Regions from separate parts of the Homo sapiens genome. Here regions 1, 2 and 4 are each linked to region 3. Evidence: promoter capture Hi-C in 16 types of primary human blood cells and fetal thymus (Javierre and others, 2016). All regions are on one chromosome and are shown on one strand. The core of a region is centred on a gene start or on the middle of the fragment in contact, and the rest is flanking DNA. Distances in the headings are between cores, read along the strand shown.

Region 1 (5,223 bases), core at 66-2,565, 1.3 Mb after region 3:
ATGACTGCAGTTTCGTGTGGGTTTTTGTATTTTTGCCCCCAATTCCAGAAATGCTGATCAAAATCTCAAAATTACAATTAGAAAACTGGGGGGCGGGGGGGAGGTGGAATTTGGTTCTTTCGTCCAAATTGAGCGGTCATTAAATCATTAGTACCAGGGATCCAGGGATCTATACCGGATTATGCAAACGCATGTAGGACGTAGAGGTTATACCGAAAGGTAATGTTTTTAACAAGAGACCACATTTCAGAATAAAAGCTTTAAAAAGCCTATGTGGAACATCACAGGTATCTAGGGCAGGAACAGCAGTTAGAGCTTGAACAGTTCTGCTTCCTTTCCGCAACTGTGGCATTCGAGGTCATTCGTCATATCAAATTCATCAGATTTTGTCTCCACTTTGCTAACCAATTCGCTAACCTTTCTGACATCTTGTGATGTGGAGGCGGAAATTTCCAGGGAAACCGACACGGGGCGTAAAGCGCGGCGGGGAGTCCGGGGGGCTCCCGCCTGGAGGGCTGTGTGAGCGGCGGGCCGCGGGGCGGCGCGGGGGGCGCTCTCCACTCTGCGGAAGCTGCCCCCTCTGCCCTCCGGTCCGCGCCCTTTCGCCCCGCTCTCTGCCCTCCGCCCCGCTCTCTGCCCTCCGCCCCGCTCTCTGCCCCCCGCCCCGCTCTCTGCCCTCCGCCCCTTCCGCGCGCCACCCAGCCTTCCAGCGCCTGCGCGCCGCACCGCGGTGGTCGCGGGCGCGGACGCGGACGCCTGCCCCCTAAGGAAGCCCATTGGCCAGCGGATGGGGCCAGCACCGCCTCGCGCCGGTGGTGGAAGCACGTGCTGGGGGCGGGAGCAGCAATCGCAGCCATGGCGTCGTTACTGTGGGGAGGCGACGCAGGGGCGGCGGAGAGCGAGCGGCTGAACAGCCACGTAACCGCCACCGAGCCGGGGGGCCACAGCCGCGGGGGTGGAGCTCCCACTCGCAGAGGGAGATCGGCTGGGAGGGGAGGGAGAGCCCGCGAGCGTTCGAAGTGGGGCGTCAGATGCTGGAGGGGAGATGCGGGAAGGGTTTGGAAGAGGGCCACAGAGGGAGACCCCGTCCCCACCCCCACGAGAGGCAAGACCTTTGGTTAGAAAGGGCAAAAATGACGACCCCTGGAAATCCAGGGTGGGAACGCAGCTGGTAGTCCCAGCTAGACCCCGAGTTTTCTACTCTGCCCATTTGCCCATTAAGCCTCACCTCGCTTCCATCCATTTGCCAGCGCACTTTCCTAGCCACCCTCCCCTTGTTGGTGCCGTGAGCCCCAAGTACTGCCCAACTCTAAACTAGAGGCCTAGGAAAGAGAAACTGCATGTACAGGGAATACAGAAAATCTCCAATTTTAGGGTAACTCATACAGGAAACCCAACCTTGAAAGGAATCTGCTGCTACCTAATATTGCAAAGGAAGCAATACCCGGGTGTCCTTCCCTGAATCCCTCCCAGCCCCTGTGGTAGGGAAGCACTGGGCTGCTTGAGGGCTTGCATCCTAATATTGGTTGAAATTTGTGTCTCTCAATAGTTTTCAAACCTCAGCCAACCCCGGAAGAACCTTTGGGGTATTAAGAGTACTGCAGTCCGAAACATAGGTGAGTGCTGTTAGGGCAAAGCAGAGCGACCTCAATGATTAAAAAGTATTGTTTTGCTTTCATCACGTCCCTGCCAAGTGAAACACCGCGGATTCATTAGTGTGACATTCAGCACTCTCCATTACCTTCCCAATCGTTTCGTCCATTCCTCCATGAAATGACTCTTCTTGCCAGTAGACACTGAAGAGTCAGGAAGAAAAAATTGAATAGCATGCTTTACATTTGTGCTCAGCATTTGTCTTTACTTGTATTGTTTCTCTTCCATCCTTTCCAGATGGTTCTATTAATAACATCAATGAAGATGATGAAGAAGATGTAGGTAGGAGATGAATTCATTTGCATGTATCTACTAGCATTCTGTTTCCGTTTATAACTTTAATAGTGTGAGTGAATAATATAATCTCAATTGGAAAAGGCCTGTCTTTGCTTCTGTTTTCTTATAGTGACTATCAGGAGACACACTAAATTAGGAGTAAGGTGTATTTATTTAAAGGAAGTTGAAATGGAATATGCAGGGATTGGGTTCAGAACTTCCATCTGTCAAGGATTTGGTCTCATGGAGATGGACTTAGGCTACTTTGAAGTTAGAGGATGGTGAAGTAACAGAGCGTAAGAAACTGAATCCTCATAAAGAACGAATCCTCAGTGCTATATCATTCTTTCTGGAACCCTCTTTTAGAGGAAAAATGAGCGTAGGTGCAATTGCTTGGTATACAACCACTGAAAGAGAAAGAGCAACTTATTTGATGTCATTCAGGAAGCTTGATGTCCTCTTTTTTATTTTTGCTTTTCTAGTGGATTTGGCAGCTAATTCACTCTTAAACAAGTTAATCCATCAATCCTTAGTAGAATCCAGTCACCGTGTGGAAGTTTTACAGAAGGATCCCAGCTCTCCACTTTACTCAGTAAAGACATTTGAAGAGCTGCGGCTGTGAGTATTTTTACTCTTTTAATATGGGAAAAATGCTGAAAACCACAGAACAAACGCATCTGCTTATAGTAAAAACCATCAGGATCTCCTCTTTGTTTTCTGATATTCAATATTTTTTTTTGTTATTTGAGACAGAGTCTCACTCTGTCCCCCAGGCTGGAGTGCAGTGATACGATCTCGGCTCACTGCTCTACCTTACAGGTTCAAGCGATTCTCCTGCCTCAGCCTCCCGAGTAGCTGGGACTACAGGCATGCACCACCACGCCCAGTTAATTTTTAATATTCAGTATTAAAGTGAGATTTGTACATTTTCCATGCAATCAAAATATAGCTCAGGCCAGGCACAGTGGCTCATTCCTATAATCCCAACACTTGGGAGCTGAGGAGGGCAGATCGCCCGAGGGTCAGGAGCTTGAGACCAGCCTGGCCGACATGGGAAAACCCCCTCTCCACTAAAAATACAAAAAGTAGCCGGGCATGGTGGCGCGCACCTGTAATCCCAGCTATTCGGGAGGCTGAGGTAGGAGAATCGCCTGAACCCAGGAGGCAGAGGTTGCAGTGAGCCGAGACACCATTGCACTCCAAGCCTGGGTGACAGAGTGAGACTCCGTCTCAAAAAAAAAAAAAAAAAGGATATTCTAAAGAAGAACATTAGGATACTCAAGTTGCCTGGCAAATTGAGAACATTTTTGATAGTAAGATATTTTCATCCTGCAGTGCTCAGGGGGATAGATAGCTAAGCTAGGCACAGCCAGATTGCCCCTCTCCATATCAGAACCCAGATTCTGATGACCCAGACATCCTCCTTCACCCACTATAGATAAGTCACAAACTTTTACTTTCCTGATTATATTTTGTTTCAAATGATATTAAACTGAATAACTTTCCCAAATGGGTTTGCATTCCCTAGGGATTTATCATTTGACGCTAAAAAATGTATTTTTACAGAACGAGAAAAGCACTGAAACCTACTTATGTAAAGGGTAAAAATCCAAAATCCTAGTTCCCAGACATTTTCTAAATGGTAGAAGAAGCCTACCCATGATTTAAGATGGGCTACCAGTCCTCTACCAATTAAGCACACACAAATGTGCATGTCATTAAAAGTTGAAGTGTTGGCCGGGCGCGGTGGCTCACGCCTGTAATCCCAGCACTTTGGGAGGCCAAGGGGGGCGGATCACGAGGTCAGGAGATCGAGACCATCCTGGCTAACACAGTGAAACCCCGTCTCTACTAAAAATACAAAAAATTAGCCAGGTGTGGTGGCGGGCGCCTGTAGTCCTAGCTACTCGGGAGGCTGAGGCAGGAGAATGGCGTGAACCCGGGAGGTGGAGCTTGCAGTGAGCTGAGGTCGCGCCACTGCACTCCAGCCTGGGCGACAGAGCAAGACTCCGTCTCAAAAAAAAAAAAGTTGAAGTGTTGTAGTCCACTTGATTTATCCTCATTCTGGCATTTTTCTTAAGACCCTCAGGAAAGCTGCATTTTAAAATATTGCCTCAGAAGGATGGAGTAATATTGTGTCTTCTACTCCTAGAAAGAACTAATATAAGAATCACCTAAATAAAAATTTGTCTTCTCTGAAAATTACTGTTAAAAATGTCAATATCGTTCGTGAAAAGGAACAAAACAGTAAATGTCACTTAGTTTTCTGCTTAGGCAGAAAATATAACTCTCTTGGCAAGCAGATATATTCTTTTTATGCGATGAGTTTTTCCATTTTTGCTTTGTTCAACAGAAGGTTTGACTTAAGGCCTTTACCACTGTCCTTCGCCTAGGCTTATGGCGTAGCTTATTATTTTAGTGGTCCAGCTCTACAGGCATGATTGTTTATGTTTGGAAGTTGAGGTATGAATGATCTATCTCCAAATACTAGTTTTAAAGCTCAGCTGCAAAGTGACTTAATTTAGAAATGCACCTTTCAGGTATGTATTTCTGATGCTACTGACCAACTATAATCTGTAAGTGTTTGATTTTTTTTTTTGACAGAAAGGAAGAGTTACTAAAAGGAATCTATGCAATGGGATTTAATAGGCCATCTAAAATCCAAGAGATGGCTCTCCCTATGATGCTGGCACATCCGTGAGTTTCCAGGGTAGTGGTATTCTACTTGGTTATGTTTAGTTTCTTATTTTCAGTTTATGCCCACTCTCTTGTATTCAGTTTATGCCCAGTGGTCTTCTCTTTTCTACAGACCCCAGAACCTCATAGCACAGAGCCAGTCTGGAACAGGAAAGACAGCGGCATTTGTGTTGGCAATGTTAAGCAGAGTTAATGCCTTGGAATTGTTCCCACAGGTAAGGGAAGGCTGAGAGAAGACTGGGAATGCTTGCACTACCAGTGCTAATTTAGTAATAGGTGATATTCCTGTGCAATGATATGGTTACTATGGTGATGAAATATTTAGAAAAGACATGTTTTCATAAAATCATAGAGCATTGGGTAGCAGCATGGGACAGTGATGGAGAGGACAGGCTTTATAGTCTTGAGTGGTTTCAATGCTAGCCTCCCACTTACTAACTGAATGTCTTAGGCAAGTTAATAAATCTGAGTCTGTTAATCCTTGTCTGTAAAGATAGCATCTGTAAAGGAATGTATCATAGTTGATCTGTTCACCCTTAAATCCTAATACCTAGCACAGTGCCTGGCTTGTAGAAACCACTCATTAAACATTGAATA
Region 2 (5,686 bases), core at 3,089-5,588, 1.3 Mb after region 3:
GGGAAGAGAGAATGGACAAAAAGGCTGACAGAAGGGAGCAGCAGTCTCAAGGGAAAGCTGGTTATTTTCATTTTGTTATTCTTTATGCCATTATTGTTCTGCCTCCAATACTGAGAAGACTTAAACAGAGAAGAATTGAAAATATTAGCGACAGGATGTAATTAGTCAGACAAGGGAGGACTATAGTTGAAAAGTTTGTCTGAAAATGTCAACAAAGAGGTGAGGTAAGCAAAGATATCATAAAGGAGTGGTTAACTTGGCCGGGCGTGGTGGCTCACGCCTGTAATCCTCACATTTTGGGAGGGAGGCCAAGGCGGGCAGATCACCTGAGGTTAGGAGTTCAAGATCAGCCTGGCCAACATGGCGAAACCCTGTCTCTATTAAAAATACCAAAATTAGCTGGGCATGGTGGCACGCGCCTGTAATACCAGCTACTCAGGAGGCTGAGGCAGGAGAGTCACTTGAACCCGGGAGGCGGAGGCTGCAGTGAGTCGAGATCGTGCCACTGCACTCCAGCCTGGGCGACAAGAGCGAGACTCTGTCTCAAAAAAAAAAGAGTGGTTAACAAGCATGATGATACAACCAGTTGAAAGCAATATTTGAGTTCATAAAGAAGTTGATGAGTTGATAAACCAACAACACCTAATTGGGGAAAGCATAAGGAAGAGAGCTGTGTTGCAATCAAAAGGTAAGGAAGCCATATTCAACTACACTGCTTAGATGTAATCAGCAAAATCCAGATTGTGGGAGATTGTACAGGGCCAATAACCTGGTTCCTTCAACAAATAAATTGCAAGGAAAAAAATGAGGGAGAAATTTAAAGAATAAAAGAAACTTAAAGAACATATGGATTTGACATATCATGTGGATTTGACTGGATCCTGACCCAGTTAAGCAAACTTTAAAAAAAGAAAGACAAGTAGAAAATTGAACTCTGGATATCTGATGATAGTAAGAAAATATATTAACTACTTTAGGTGTGATAATAGTATTATGTTGGCCGGGCGCGGTGGCGGGTGCCTGTAGTCCCAGCACTTTGGGAGGCCGAGGTGGGCGGGTCACAAGGTCAGGAGATCGAGACCATCCTGGCTAACATGGTGAAACCCTGTCTCTACTAAAAATACAAAAAATTAGCCGGGTGCGGTGGCGGGTGCCTGTAGTCCCAGCTACTCCGGAGGCTGAGGCAGGAGAATAGCATGAACCCGGGAGGTGGAGCTTGCAGTGAGCTGAGATAGCGCCACTGCAGTCCGGCCTGGGTGAAAGAGTGAGACTCCGTCTCAAAAACAAACAAACAAACAAAAATAGTATTATGTTATGCTTTTAAAAGGTCCTTTAATTTTTCAGAGATCATACTGAAATATTTAGATTTCAGATACTCAGTATTTGCTTCAAAATAATACAAGACAAGGTATGTGGTGATATAGAAGCAACAAGACTGGTCATAAGTTAATCATTGCTGAATCTGGTATTGAGTTCACTGGGCTTCATTATGTATGGTTTTTTAACATTTGTTTGAAATTTTCCATAACAAATTTTTAAGATGAGATTTGGTTTGCAGAGTAGGATTTTTCTCTATATACTGTATTTTAAGTGGTCATGGTTAAAGTTTCTTGTTTAAGGTTTGACCGGGGTTCAGTAGATTTCTGGGAACCACAAGCATTATTAAATCAGATCTAAGAAAAATTGGAGGACTAAGCAATCCACAAAAAAACCAGGGTTGGGTAGAACACAAGATACCACTTGCAATATGAAATATTCAGGAGTAGATCCTTCAAGCTGCTATGTATTAAACGTTTTCAAAGATCAAAATTTAATAAAAAGGATAACAGAAACTAATTGGGGCTGCACACAGTGGCTCACGCTGGAAATCCCAGCACTTTGGGAGGTGGAGGCTGGCGGATCGCTTGAGGTCAGAGTTCAAGACTAGCCTGGCCAATATGATGAAACCCTGTCTCTACTAAAAATACAAAAATTAGCTGGGTGTGGTGGCACACGCCTGTAGTCCCAGCTACTCAGGAGACTGAGGCATGAAAATCATTTGAACCTGGGAGGTGGAGGTTGCAGTGAGCCAAGATCGTGCCACTGCACCCCAGCCTGGGCTACAGAGAGAGACTCTGTCTCAAAAAAAATTAAAAAAAAAAGAAAAAGAAACGAACTGGGGGATCCATAAGGAGAATGCTGATGTTCAAAGCTGGAAGAAAAATGATTCCATCTACTCTTTGGTTTCTAAGACAGATTGGAGATTCAAAGCCAAAGAAAAAGTCATGCTGGCATAAGATAAAACCTGAGCATATTAAATTTGCTCCTATGGAAAGAAAAGAATATATGCACTAAAACAAAGGTCCCCAACCCCCAGGCCACGGACAGGCACCTAGGAACCAGGCCGCAAGGCAGGGGGTAAGCCGTAGGAGCTTCATCTGTTTCTACAGCCACTCCCCATCTGGCATTACTGCCTGAGCTCTGCCTTCCGTCGCATGAACAGGGGTGTTAGAGTCTCACAAGAGCGTGAACCCTATTGTGAACTGCGCAAGCCAGGGATCTAGGTTGCATGCTCCTTATGAGAATCTAATGCCTGATGATCTGTCACTGTCTCCCATCACCCCCAGATGGGACCATCTAGTTGCAGAAAAACAAGCTCAGGGCTCCCACTGATTCTACATTACAGTGAGTTGCATAATTATTTCATTATATGTTACAATATAATAATAGAAATAAAGTGCACAATAAATGTAATGCGCTTGAATCATCCCAAAACCATACCCCCTCTCTGAGCCATGGAAAAATTGTCTTCCATGAAACCTGTCTCTAGTGCCAAAAAGGTTGGGACCGCTGCACTAAAGGAGTGTTATGATATTGCAGATGTAGGGGCAGTCACTCAAATCTCCACAACCTACTTCTGTCATCTTCCCTCCTTTGTTCTTTCCATTTTCTTCCTCCCACAAATTCAAAGTGCCTTAGAGGTAGCACAAAGGCCCTGAGGCAAAGAGGGAGAGTAAGAGATAATACGAAGTGTTTGGAGGAAAAGGATTAAACATTTCTCCCCTCCCACTGAATCCTGGATTTAAGAAATGGTGTAAGATGAACTTGACAACTAGCACCTATTTGTTTAAGGTGGAAAATGCAATGCTCAGGACTCAAGACCAGTTGAGATAGGTTTGCTTGGTATTGACTAGGATATTGAACCCTGAGGGCCTCTCCTCTTGCTTTTACAGATCTCATCCTCAGCAATCCCCAAGCACTAGATTTTTTTTTTTTTTTTTTTTTTTTTTTTTACAGGTACAGATGCAAAAAGAGTTAAAACATCGGGTTTAAAAAAAAAATTAGTGGCTGGGCACAGAGGCTCACAACTGTAATCCCAGAGCTTTGGGAGGCCGAGGGGGTAGAATCACCTGACTAACATGGTGAAACCCCATCTCTACTAAAAATACAAAATTAGCCGGGCATGGTGGTGCTCGCCCGTAATCCCAGCTGCTCGGGAGGCTGAGGCAGGAGAATCGCTTGAACCTGGGAGGCAGAGGTTACAGAGAGCTGAGATCGCGCCACTACTCTCCAGCCTGGGCAACTGGGCAACAAGAGGGAAACTCCGTCTCAAAAAAAAAAAAAAAAAAAAGTTGAGAGTAACACCATGTGAAGGAGACAGGCACATTCCAAAAGAAAACAAGTGCATGTCGGAGCAAGGCAGTCGGTGGCTGGAGCACAGTTAGAGTAACGTGGGAGGAGCTGTGGAGACGCAGCCACGGGTCACGCCAGGGCCCTGCACACCATGCAGAGGAAAGGAAGAGCTCAGTGCGCCAGGGTTTCATACAGCCGCTCTCTCAGGCCCCAAGGAAACGTCTAGAGCGCACAGGCGGACTCACCCCAGACTGTTCGAACCGTCCCTGAGCGCCCGCCCTCGTCTCCCGGCACCACTGGCCCCGCAGCAGCCAGTTGAGAAGGGCGGAGGCTGATTCCAATGAAGTGGCAGACCGTTAGGCGGCCTCTCCAAAAAGCCAGCTATGTCGCCGTTAGCCAAGGTTTGAGGGTCTTCTCCTTCTCTTCGAGGGCCCAACCTCCCCTCCAGATTTAGTACACCAGAGGCGTCGCAGCAACGGCTGCTGCCTGCGCGCCTCAGCTAGGCGGGCTCGGATATTTTTAAGGCCACATTGGAAATCCCGGGCATGCTCCCGCCGGCGGAGAAGGCCCAGACAAAATGTGCGCCAATCAGGATACAGACTTGGAGGACGTTTACCCTCAGGACCAATAAGAGGGAGGGCGGACCGGGCCAAGGGTGCCGGTTCGCTCTCCGGATTTAAACCTCAGCGGTCGGCGGTTAACCGCAGGCTCGGCGCGTGGGCCGGCAGTGCGCCTGCGCAAGTTACGCGAAAGCTAACAGAATCTGCGGTGCTCTGCTGGCGACTGGCAGGACGCGGTGCAGAGAGCGGACTTCCGCGACGCGGGTAAGCCGGGCGAAGGCCGGAAGCGGAGGGACGCGGGGACCTGGTGGCTGCCGGCCCACTGCGGCGGGAGCCCTCGCTCCTTTTCCCACCGTCGGGACGGTGCAGAGTGGCAGCTTCCCTCCGTGGATTCCAGGTCCTGCCTGGCGAGCCGTCCCCAACGTCTGCGTTCCTGAGGGAGGCGGCCGGGGCAGCGTGAGCTACAGGCGATGTGCGCGGCGGGCCGCAGCCCCTGGAGGTCACGGTGTGCGCTGGCCGCCGCCGCGGTCTTTGCCCCGGTGGCCTTTCTGAGCTCCTGGGCCGCGCCCCTGGGACCAGGCGGAGGCCGGGGACGGCCCCAGGGCTGGAGGGGAGTCCCGAAGGCCGCTAGCGACCTGGGTCCAAGCCACGCCCACGGCCAGGCGGGGCGACTGCGAGCTTTGCCGTTGAAAGGCGGAGCGTGTCTTGTCGCCTTCTAGCTGCACCTTTTGTGGACTGCAGCATGGAACCGTCCAAGGTGTTTGTCCACCCCGAAATGGAAATAAATCTTTTTTATTCTAAACAGTATACAATCTCACTAAGCAGGCAAAGAAAAACATTAAGATATCTTTTTAGATTGGTAAGATTTTTCAGTACCCCATGCTGCTGAGAGAGTGAAGAAATGAAAGCAAGCACCTTTATGGCCTGTGTGCTGGGGATAATCTGTTTTTCTAGAGGGCAGTTTGGCATTATAAATCAGAATTCAGGCCGGGCGCGGTGGCTCACGCCTGTTACCCCAGCACTTTGGGAGGCCGAGGTGGGCGGATCACGTGAGGTCAGGAGTTCGAGACCAGCCCGACCAATACGGTGAAACCCCGTCTCTACTAAAAATACAAAAATTGGCCGGGCTTGGTGGCGGGCGCCTGTAGTCCCAGCTCCTCGGGAGGCCGAGACAGGAGAATCTCTTGAACCCGGGAGGGAGAGGTTGCAGTGAGCCGAGATCGCGCCACTGCACTCCAGCCTGGGCGACCGAGCAAGACTCTTGTCTCAAAAAAAAAAAAAAAAAAGAGAAAAGAAAAACATAAATCAGAATTCAAGTAGTACCATAACTTCTAAGTCATAATCCAATTCCAGGAGTTTATTCCAAGGACATAAATCGGACAAGAATGCAAACATAGTATGTACATGTTTTTAGCAATCCGAGCAACATTTAGTACGTGTAAAGAAGAAAGAAAATACTCGAAATTTCATCAGTCACAGATAACCATCAAACACTGTTCACATTTAGGTTTACT
Region 3 (5,201 bases), core at 2,585-5,084:
CTTGCTTGGCAGAAATCCAGTGTAATAAATCATTACTCACTGATCATTCACTGGGTTTATCACATTGCAGTAAGTACTTGGAGAATCAAGATATACTCATATGCCTCAGTTTGGGGGAGAAGCATGGTTATGCTCGGGAAGACAGATTTTCATGGGAACCAAGAATGCCATGTTGAAAACAGATCTGTTACTTTGTCACATGCCTCTCTTAGAGTATGGTTCTAAATGGTCACTACTAACCTTGCCTCCTTCCTTCCACTGCCCAGGGCTCGGAAAGAACGATACTTTGAATTCCCTTTGCTAGAGCGGTACCTGGCATGTAAGCAGCGTTCACATTCGCTAGTGGCTACCTACCTCCTGAGGAACTCCCTCTTGCTCATCTTCACCTCCGCCACTTACCTATACCTTGGTCATTTCCATCTGGATGTCTTCTTCCAGGAAGAATTCAGCTGCTCCATCAAGACAGGGCTGCTAAGTGATGAGACCCATGTCCCCAATCTGATCACATGCAGGCTGACATCACTGTCCATTTTCCAGATTGTTAGCCTCTCCAGTGTAGCAATATACACCATATTGGTTCCAGTGATAATATACAACCTCACACGGCTATGTCGGTGGGACAAACGACTTTTATCTGTCTATGAGATGCTCCCAGCTTTTGATCTCCTCAGCAGAAAGATGCTAGGATGTCCCATCAATGACCTCAATGTGATCCTTCTTTTCCTCCGAGCTAACATCTCTGAGCTCATCTCTTTTAGCTGGCTGAGTGTCTTATGTGTGTTGAAGGATACAACCACCCAGAAGCACAATATTGACACAGTAGTTGATTTTATGACTTTATTGGCTGGCTTAGAACCCTCAAAACCCAAACACCTCACCAACTCGGCATGTGATGAACACCCATAGTTAAGAAACCATGGAGCAAGAAAGCTTGTGGAAAGTCTCTCTCCTTCCTCATAAGACATGCACACTAATACACATACACACCAAAAAATTACACATTTTAAAACTGCTAAGCTTGGATTTAACTGAATCATATATCTTTTATCATGTTATCCTAAAAGTGAGAAGACATAACCAAGACATGGAAATAAATGTGAAAGCTGGAGCCGAAGAGTCAAAGAGCTAAAAAATTAAGTCTAGAACATTCTATGAGGATAGTATAAATAAAAAGAAATACAGTCTAGACATGCTGCAAGGAAAGAAGATTCTAAAGTCCGTTTATGGAGGCAATTCCATATCCTTTCTTGAACGCACATTCAGCTTACCCCAGAGAGCAAGTGAGGCAATCTGGCAAAAGATTAATAAAGATGTAAACCCCTGGAAACCCTTTGGTGTGGCCTGAAATCCTAGGAATTTACCCAGCTTGCTTTGTAGAAGTTATCAACCTTGTCCAAGTCCTCTGTAGCCTCCAAAGTGCTGGGAGATGATGGCTTCAATTTGTAATCTGCTCTTAGGATGTAAGGACATAGTAGAACAAGGCTGGGGCCATGTCTCAGCCGTGAGTGGAGCCTTCAGGTGCCCAGATACACTTTTCACCATCTAAACCAGGAACTCATTTCACCAGGGGCTGGGATTATGGGCTATGGACTTCTTCACAACTGTTAACGGAGCCAGGTATGCTTTTAATACTCCAGAGGATACTATGCCTTCCCTTACAGCTAATCACTGAATAGCAAGCACTTACAAATGGGTAGACAGTAAAGTGCTATTGAACTTCTTTCTCTTCTGATTTATTACCCTATTTTAGCTTCTAACTCCCATTCCTATGCCTGTAGTTAATGGAACTTTGGTCTGACTTCAAAGACCACACTCAGACACAATATCATGCTGTCTGCCATTTTATATTTCTTTTTAGAGCTACACATTATGCATTTCTTTAAAGAATTTTTGCATAGGCCATTTAGACCCTTCTTCGTATAGTTAAGTAGAAAAGTTGTGTTGCTTCTGACAGATTCAGGTAAGTTTACCTAACACAAGCAAAGAGCTGATAGATGGTTTCCTATTGTCACTGGGTCAAAGTCCAACTCTTCAGTTGGTACACAAGACTTTTCATGACCCAAAAAACCCTACTTACTGCTTCAGTCTCTCTTCTTGCTTCTCTCTACACACATCTTTCACACTGATCAACTACTTGCAGTTCCCATACTGAGCCTTTGCATATGCTGTCTCCACCATCCAGCATGCCCCCCTTTGTTCTTCACTGGGCCAACCAACCACTACCTCTCCTTCAGAGTCTGCCCAGATGTATCTCCTTTAAGAAACCTTTCCTATCTCCTCCCTCCTTCCCTGAGTGCTGCCAAATAAAATAAAACCTACCTCTGAAACAAACTTATTATACCATATTAACATTGCCAATTTACTTGTCTGTCTTTCCTTCTTAAATTAAGGTTCTTAAAGGTGGTATCATAATAGGCACTAGGTAAATATTCTTCTAAACAAATAAGGACTGAATGAGTTGCTCAGTGGCATGACCTTTGTGGAGCACACATATCCAGCCTCTGAACAGTCCTATATGGAAAAAGCTTTGGACGCAAAGATATGCTTTTAATGGAATTGACCAAAAAGTCAAAGAACATGGAAATAATTATGCAAAATATAATATAGCCATAACTGGAATATTAACCAGCCACTTAAAATTATGCTTATAAGGAAGCTATACTAACATTTGTGAAACTGAAATGATACAATGGTAAATGAACAAAAAGAAAACTTTATTTTCAGTATTGTCTAACCTATACAAAAATGCATAAAATATTAGACACATATACTAACATGGTAAAAGTAGTTCATTCCAAGTGGTAGCATTATGGATTTTTAAACCTTTCTTGTACTATATTTTCTAAATTTCTAAAGTTCGAATGAAATGTTTTGTAAGTGTAAGGAAATGTGTCCAATGAAGAAGAAACAAAAAATATCTTCATGCAAATCCCACTAAAGTCCATTGGCCAAAACAGCCTGCAAACTAGGACAAAGGATAGCACTTTTCTTCCCCCTAGATGTGATACATGTATATGAAAATAAATAATACAAATAAAGTCAGACCCCAAAGCCCGCAAGGACAAAATACAGCAGAACAGCAAATTTTTTTTTTGAGAGAAAAAACTAGAGAGTTACTGAACTAGTTATTGGCATCGCTGGAAGAAGATGCAAGCAAGCCTTCTGCCATCCAGCCTGGGTCACTTACCAATACCGCACCCTAAAGATTTTTCTATCTTCCCTAATTTTAAATAGACCTTGGTTGTAAAGTTAGAACCATATACATGTACATATTATGTACAGAAATACACTTCTGGTTTCACTAGACAAACATTTACTGAGTGCCTACTTAGTGCTAGTATTAAAACTGCGTGTTAAATCTCTCATCTTCCCTACTAGAAAGAGCCAAGGCCTTTCTTCCTGTTCACTACTGTGTTCCCAGCTCCTGGGAAGATGATAGCATTAGGAGGCCCTGCAAACACATTTCTGTGAGCTGCAGAAAGGAACGAAGCAGGGAAAGAAGCAGAGTCCCAGCACTTGGGCTCACTTTGTCCTACAGTCTGGGAAAGCCTGTCTGCACGAAGCATGAAAAACGTATTAAAACGCAGTGGCCCAGCGGGGGAGCGTGAATGAGAGCTCGCATTGGTAAGCTTCTTGTTAGTTCGTTGGTTCAACTATAGTACCCTTCAGCTAAGCACACGGCCGCCGGCCCTCCCTCCTCTCCTCATCCAGCACTAGCCCCCAGCTGTCTCTTTCCTCCCGGTGCCCACGATCGCACCGCCCAGACCACCCTACTCTCCCTGCCCCGGAAGTTACACACTGCCGACACCGGGACGTAACTTCCGGGAAGGGCTTACTTCCAAGACAGACACGGAAGTGCTGGGAGGCGCCGGGAGCCCGTTCGGTTGCGGGTGTCTCTGGCCCTGCGGTCAGCCCTGGGAACGTCCCGGAGAGCTAGATTCCTAGAGGCCCGATTCCGCTAGCCCGGAACAGACAAAGCCAGCGCTCCCGCCCGCTCCCCGACTTAGGATCCGATGCCGGCAGCGTCCTGGGGCCCCCGTAGCGGGGCTGGACCATGAGCCTGCTGGACGGCCTCGCTTCCTCGCCGCGGGCTCCGCTGCAGTCCAGCAAGGCCAGGATGAAAAAGCTCCCGAAGAAGAGCCAGAATGAGAAGTACCGGCTGAAGTACCTGCGGCTGCGCAAAGCGGCCAAGGCCACGGTGTTTGTGAGTCTGACCCACGTTCAGCCGGTCCCCTCCTGGAGACTCCCTCACAAAATCTTTCCCCAAGCTGTTCCCCCTTCCCAGTGTGACAGTATTAATACAGTGTTGGCTTTTCCGTATACGTTACTACTTGTTAGCCTTGTGTCCTTGGACAAATTACGTAATTTCTCTGTGTCCTCATCTGTAAATGAGCTAGTAACTGTCTTGCAGAATAATGAATATTAAATGAGTAAAGAAAAGTGCTTGGTGCGTAAAAGACATACCAATAAATTTTAGTCATCGTTGTTACTGCAGGACTCTAGGAAATGTGTTTGATTCTCGAGATACAGCCCTGAGAATTAGGCATTATTTGTAAAATGAGAACACTGAAGCCCAGAGAGATGATTTGCCCAAGGGTACTGTGTCAGAGCCCTGACTCCAACTTAGATAAACCTGATTCCGTTTTATGACTTCCAGTACACAGACTATTTTCTGAGCACCTCAAATCCCCATAACTGACCCTTTGCCCAAAGAGGTACATGAAACTGTCAGTAATTTCCCCCCTCTAACCTTTGAGTGTTCCAAGTGTTTCTTCCTTTCTTTTATTGTAGAAGCACTGGATTTATTGAGTGAATAAACTTAATATAGCTTGCCAGCCATAACTTTATATTAGAATAGTTTGGCTTGCCTCAGTGCTTGGAAATAGGGGTGGAGTCCTCAAATGTCCCCCCACATCCAAGTCAACAGTTCATCTCTTCTCTCTACCAAAAGCTTGAACGTCTCTCAGCATTTTTGGAAGCATAAGGAAAGGTTCAGAAATTAGAATACACATTCCAAAAGCACTTATTCAGCACTTGCTATGTGTATTGCTTGCTATTTGCACTGGAGAGAAACAAGAAAAGTAAAACTAAGAGAACTTAGCATCTGATTGACTGTTCCCTTTCTTTTATCCCCTATACGTCAAAGGTACCTAAAGCTTGGAATTTATGTTATTTCAAGGATATTGGTTCCATCAAATACA
Region 4 (5,415 bases), core at 138-2,637, 1.0 Mb after region 3:
GAAGCGCAGCGCGGTCGGTCGCGCGCCCCTGAGGCTTGGAGGCCTGGGCTTCCCCCAGCAGCGCTCGAGCACCGCCCAGTCGAGCCTCACACCGGATGCCACTTCATATTTGGGCCCAGAGCTCAATTCGCGCCGATGCGGTCCGCCGTCCTTAAATCTCTTCAGCCAGGATCTCTCCCCGACTGCAAAGCAGCCCTGGGCGGGAGCGGCAACATCTCCACGTCACCCTTTTGGAGCCGCCGACATTCAGAGGGGCAGGACACGGGAACGCGCGCTGTCTTGCTTTACGGCGCGGGTGCGCGAGTTTGCGGCAGCGTGACGCCCTCAAGTTTTGGCGGGAAAAGCGCTGCATTTGGATTCCTGCAGTGGTGGGCAAAGGACAGTCCGGTGAGGAAGGGCGGCCGGTAGAGTAGGGAAGGTTTCTAAAGAAGGAGTTCGGGGTCTAGATTAGTGAGGGAGGGCATGGTGGGAGAAAGTTAGCATTGACTAGCGCAGGGGATTGGAGAGACTCCTGCGGAGGGGCGGTTTCGGAGGGTGGAGGAATGGTACCAGGAGGTTCCCGTTGTGGGGGCGGGGGCAGGAGGGACTAACCCGCTGCTAGCTAAGAACCCCAAGGAAGAGTCCCAGCCCTTCCTTTCGCCTCTGGGGGCAGTTTGGCCCCGCCCCGGCCTTTGGGACGGGTGGGGCTGTGGATGGGGATGGGAATTGGAATTGAGCAATTGGGAGGAGGCGCTGCCGCAGGCGTTTTCTGCCCCATACCGCTCCCTATATCCTCTTCCTCTCTTCCCCAGACCCCCACCTCTCCCTCCTCCTTCCCCAGTCGTTCGCCGGAAAGCATTTGTCTCCCACCTCTTCATAACAACAATTAATTTCCTCTGGGGCCTGAGGAGGGCAGAATTTCAACCTTCGGTGTGCTTGGGAGTGGCGATTGTGATTTACACGACAAAATGGTCAGGTTTAGAATAGTTGTTCGTGGTTGAAAGACTTGGATAAATGTGGATGAGATAGAAGGGGAAGGCAAGAGCTGTTAATTTTCGTGGGCAATCCTGGGGAGAGGCGGGGCTCAGTGGCTTCACTGGTGATCTTACACTCTACATCTTTTCTGGATTCCTGCCTTTTACAGCCGAGGTGCTCGGTGGAGTCATGGCAGTGCCCTTTGTGGAAGACTGGGACTTGGTGCAAACCCTGGGAGAAGGTGCCTATGGAGAGTGAGTTCTTTTAAGCTTGCCTTCGTTTTCTGAGTGCATATTCATTGTTTTGGAGTCTCACACTCTGGTGATTTAGAAAGTAGATGTTTGAGATCCAAGGGTTTTGGCAACTGAAGTTACACAGCCTTTTGCTAGGATTAAAAATTTTTTCCTTCCCTTTAAAAAAAAAAGTTTTCTTTGTAGAGAGCTGGAAGGGACACGAAGTTATTGTTTCCATGCCCACAAATTGCTTCTCAGGGTTTAAGCATTGCGGTTAATGAGCAAATGAGCAGACTCTGGAGATTGCCTGCCTGGTTTCAGATCCTTGCTCTATCACATACTGGTCATTGTTTTGTGATCTTAGGCAAGCTTCTTAATGTCATTGTGTACCTCTCCTTCACTACCTTTAGGGTGGCAATAATCGCATCTACCCCATAGGAGCTTAGGACAGTCAGTTACACAAGCACATATAGTATGGGATTAATGCTCTTAAAAGTATATGAGTAGAACATGTATATATGTGATGTGGCTTAGAATTATCTCAATCTATTTTATGAAGCGTTTATTAAATGACTTGTGTGACAGCATAATGACGTCTTTGGAGGGTTAGCTATTGTATTTCACATTTTAGAAAAGAGTAGTGTGTGTTGAGAACATAGCAGAAACCACTTCCTTGGTTTCTCCTTTGTGGAAAAAGTAATAGAGGTAAAATCGTTTTGGATGAGTCATGTTTAATCTTTGGAAGTTTTAGAAGAAATGGAATTCTGTAATGTTAAAACTCTTTTCCTTTTTAGAGTTCAACTTGCTGTGAATAGAGTAACTGAAGAAGCAGTCGCAGTGAAGATTGTAGATATGAAGCGTGCCGTAGACTGTCCAGAAAATATTAAGAAAGAGATCTGTATCAATAAAATGCTAAATCATGAAAATGTAGTAAAATTCTATGGTCACAGGAGAGAAGGCAATATCCAATATTTATTTCTGGAGTACTGTAGTGGAGGAGAGCTTTTTGACAGAATAGGTATGGAAGAAATTTAAGATAATTATTTTAAACAAGTTTTTAAATTTGTTTTTTAAATCTTGGGCATGCTATTTGGTCGTTGTCCTTTCAAAATTGCTCATGCAACTGTGAAATTGGAATACATTATCTTTAAAAAATTTTTCCACCTGGTGTTAATAACATAAAAGCATATATAGAGTCAATGAAAGAAAACTTCTTTCCCAAGTTATATAAGTGATTTTGATTTAAGATTGGTGTCTTACAGAATTTAAGAGTGACAAACAAGTTTTATGGTACATCATAAATGCAGTGTATCCTAAATGCAATGTATTGCCTACACAATTTTTTCTTTGTAGACATTCTAGTTACATGAAATCATTGTATACATTTTATACATTTACAGATCTAAAATAGCATGCTGTTTCCTCTTGGTTTACATGAAATAATTGAGAATTTTCTAGGATTGCTTTTTGTATATTAAGTAAATTCTATGTTTGCTATTAATACTTAAATATTCGATGTAGAATCAAAGGATTGATATTTCAGAACACTGAGAAGTACATAAAATCTGGATCTAAATTTATAATTTAAATTTATAATTTAAAGCTATTGTATTAAATAAGTTTATCAGTTAAAAACTGATAAAGAGGTATTAGGATCTCCAGTGTGACTCAGGAGAGAGTTGAGGGTAAAAGAAATGGAGTTAATGAGAGAGATCAAAATATAAAAAGATAACTGATAAAAGAACTTTCATAATAAAACTGTTTCACGAAGGACCTCACAGGCATTTGTGGTTTTGTACTGTGAGACTATATGAAGTTTAAATCTGAGCCAGGTGTGGTGGTACATGCCTGCAATCCTAGCTACTTAGGAGGCAGGAGGATTGCTTGAGCTCAAGAGTTCCAGGTTACAGTAAGTTATGATCTCACGCCAGGGCACTCCAGCCTGGGTGAAAGAACAAGACCGTATCTCTAAAAAAAGTTAAATTATAAAAGAAGTATAATCTGTAAAATATTTAGTGAAATTGGCTTAGATTTGCCCAGACTTCCCCTTTGGCATTATATTTCAGGAATGAGAAAAATAATTAGCATAGCATTTAGAAGAAATGGGGGGAATTTCAAGGTTACTAAATAAATCAGGGTTAGTATAAGAGGAAGCAGAGGCTTTGAAGTCATGGCTTGCATTCTTGATTTGGATATTGGTTTTCTCTTTATAATTTTTCTGTGATGACGCCTTTTGCCACCTAACACAGGTAAATGTGAGTTAAGCCCCATATGTGTTAGTGGACTCCTGAATCTTTTGTTGGCATTTGCTTCTGTTTGCCTAAGCACATTTGTAAATGTCTAAGCTTCAAATTAAGAAGCTATGTGGTTGCTACCTGATTATATTTAGTCAATAAACTTACTTTCATATTTGTTTTAGAGCCAGACATAGGCATGCCTGAACCAGATGCTCAGAGATTCTTCCATCAACTCATGGCAGGGGTGGTAGGTATAGTTGTCTATTTCCCTTTTACTTAAAATTAGAGTGAATACATTACATTACCAAATTCTAGTGTGTTTCTCTCTGCATCCCTCTTAGGTTTATCTGCATGGTATTGGAATAACTCACAGGGATATTAAACCAGAAAATCTTCTGTTGGATGAAAGGGGTAAGTTTAGCATTTTATCACTACCTAAAATAAAATAAAATAATTACCTAAATTATTTTAATTACCTAATTATTTTAATATAGCCATACAAGGCAAAATCAAGTCTTTTTGCATTACTGGAATTTCAAGACAAGATCTGAAAAATCAAGGAAATTTTGGAGACTTCGTATATTTGGAAATCACAAGTCTCATTTTGCAATACAAGTGCGGATCAGGTAGAGAAATCTGACCTAGGTGCAAGCCTAGCTCACTATATGTATAAGAATAATTTTTTTTTTTTTGATACAGGCTCACTGTGTTGTCCAGTCTGGGGTGCACTGTATTATCACAGTTCACTGCAGCCTTGACCTCCTAGGCTCAAGCAATCCTACCATCTCAGCTTCCCGAGTAGCTAGGACCAACCACAGGCAGGTGCCACCATGCCTGGCTAATTTTTGATTTTTTGAAGAGGTGGAGTCTTCCTGTGTTGCTCAGGCTAGTCTTGAACTCCTGGACTCAAGCAGTTTACCAGCCTTAGCCTCCCAGAGTGTTGGGATTATAGACGTGAGCCACCATGCCTGGCCAAGAATAGTTTAAAATAATCCTTTAATGGATTAATAAAGGGAAGTTCCTGTGGAATACCCTGGACCTTAGTCTTGTCCTGTTCACTCTTTTTTTATGTATGACGTGGATAAAAATGTAAGAAATTTAGTTATATTTTCTGAATGTCATCAAATTGAGAAGGATGGATAGCGAAAGCTTTAAGCTTACAGGGTCAGAATCAAAAAAGAAATGTCAGCTGTATGAGGCAGTAGTTTTTGTCTGGTTTAATGCTTTATTCTTAGTATTAGAATAGTGCTTAACAAATGGTCAGCTTTTTTTTTTTTTTGAAACAGAGTCTTGCTGTGTTGCCCAGGCTGGAGTGTAGTGACATGATCTCGGCTCACTGTAACCTCTACCTCTCTGGTTCAGGTGATTCTTGTGCCTTAGGCCCCTGAGTAGCTGGGATTACAAGCCTGAGTCACCACACCTGGCTCATTTTTATATTTTTAGTAGAGATGGGGTTTTGTCATATTGGCCAGGCTGGTCTCGAGCTCCTGGCCTCAAGTGATCTGCCTCCCTTGGCCTCCCAGAGTGCTGGGATTATAGGTGTGAGCCGCTGTACCCAGCCTATACATGCTTTTTTCTTATGTGCATATGGATTTTACTTTTTACCCCTTTAAACTGAGTTTATATGACATAAAAATCTTTATTTTTATTTAAAACTTTAAAAATTCAGGTACACAAAAATTCTTATGTATTATAATGAAATGTAAATATATGTATATCAACCCACCTGGTTTAAAAATACAACATTATTCGTATATAAGAATGCTCACAGTGGTGATGTTTTTAATATAGCAGGAAACTAACCCAAATGTCTGTCAACAATAAATTATGAAATGCATGGCTTTTCAAGCCATGTCACAAGCAGTGACACAAGCATGTCACAAGCAGTGACATGGATGAATTTCAGGTATATAATGATGTAGAGCAAAAAGAGACAGTTGCAAAAGAATTCATATGGTCTGATTCTGTTTATACAAAGTTCAAAAATATGT

The links. Contacts are between HindIII fragments. The CHiCAGO score rates a contact against its expected background, and 5 or more counts as called.
Region 1: a fragment that was not itself captured here is called in contact with the fragment with the promoter of TBRG1 in region 3 in 3 of 17 cell types (activated CD4 T cells, fetal thymus and total CD8 T cells); the score reaches 6.9 in activated CD4 T cells.
Region 2: the fragment with the promoter of HYLS1 here is called in contact with the fragment with the promoter of TBRG1 in region 3 in 5 of 17 cell types (non-activated CD4 T cells, total B cells, fetal thymus and 2 more); the score reaches 9.4 in non-activated CD4 T cells.
Region 4: a contact is called between a fragment that was not itself captured here and the fragment with the promoter of TBRG1 in region 3, in 1 of 17 cell types (fetal thymus). The highest score is 6.6, in fetal thymus.

The regions. Positions count from the first base shown.
Region 1 is chr11:125,903,663-125,908,885 of GRCh38, forward strand. DDX25 (DEAD-box helicase 25) reads left to right here and starts at 846. Exons shown (of 12, transcript NM_013264.5): 1 at 846-918; 2 at 1,550-1,616; 3 at 1,891-1,935; 4 at 2,412-2,547; 5 at 4,534-4,626; 6 at 4,739-4,841. The coding sequence starts at 856. The HindIII fragment of the contact is 2,119 bases long and covers 257-2,375 here.
Region 2 is chr11:125,883,330-125,889,015 of GRCh38, forward strand. It overlaps HYLS1 (HYLS1 centriolar and ciliogenesis associated), which reads left to right and starts at 4,339. Exons shown (of 3, transcript NM_001134793.2): 1 at 4,339-4,436. RefSeq lists an enhancer at 4,047-4,096 and silencers at 4,237-4,286, 4,377-4,426, 4,527-4,916. The HindIII fragment of the contact is 13,277 bases long and covers 1-5,686 here.
Region 3 is chr11:124,619,030-124,624,230 of GRCh38, forward strand. TBRG1 (transforming growth factor beta regulator 1) reads left to right here and starts at 3,835. Exons shown (of 9, transcript NM_032811.3): 1 at 3,835-4,204. The coding sequence starts at 4,055. It overlaps LOC124902779 (a long non-coding RNA gene), which reads right to left and starts at 4,172. Exons shown (of 2, transcript XR_007062932.1): 1 at 1-4,172. It overlaps PANX3 (pannexin 3), which reads left to right. Exons shown (of 4, transcript NM_052959.3): 4 at 267-1,327. The coding sequence ends at 906. RefSeq lists an enhancer at 3,912-3,981. The HindIII fragment of the contact is 1,322 bases long and covers 3,628-4,949 here.
Region 4 is chr11:125,625,626-125,631,040 of GRCh38, forward strand. CHEK1 (checkpoint kinase 1) reads left to right here. Exons shown (of 13, transcript NM_001114122.3): 1 at 1-387; 2 at 1,124-1,208; 3 at 1,982-2,205; 4 at 3,607-3,671; 5 at 3,766-3,835. The coding sequence starts at 1,144. LOC118567325 (a long non-coding RNA gene) reads right to left here and starts at 269. Exons shown (of 1, transcript NR_170378.1): 1 at 1-269. RefSeq lists enhancers at 1-213, 1,030-1,573, 1,134-1,183. The HindIII fragment of the contact is 333 bases long and covers 1,222-1,554 here.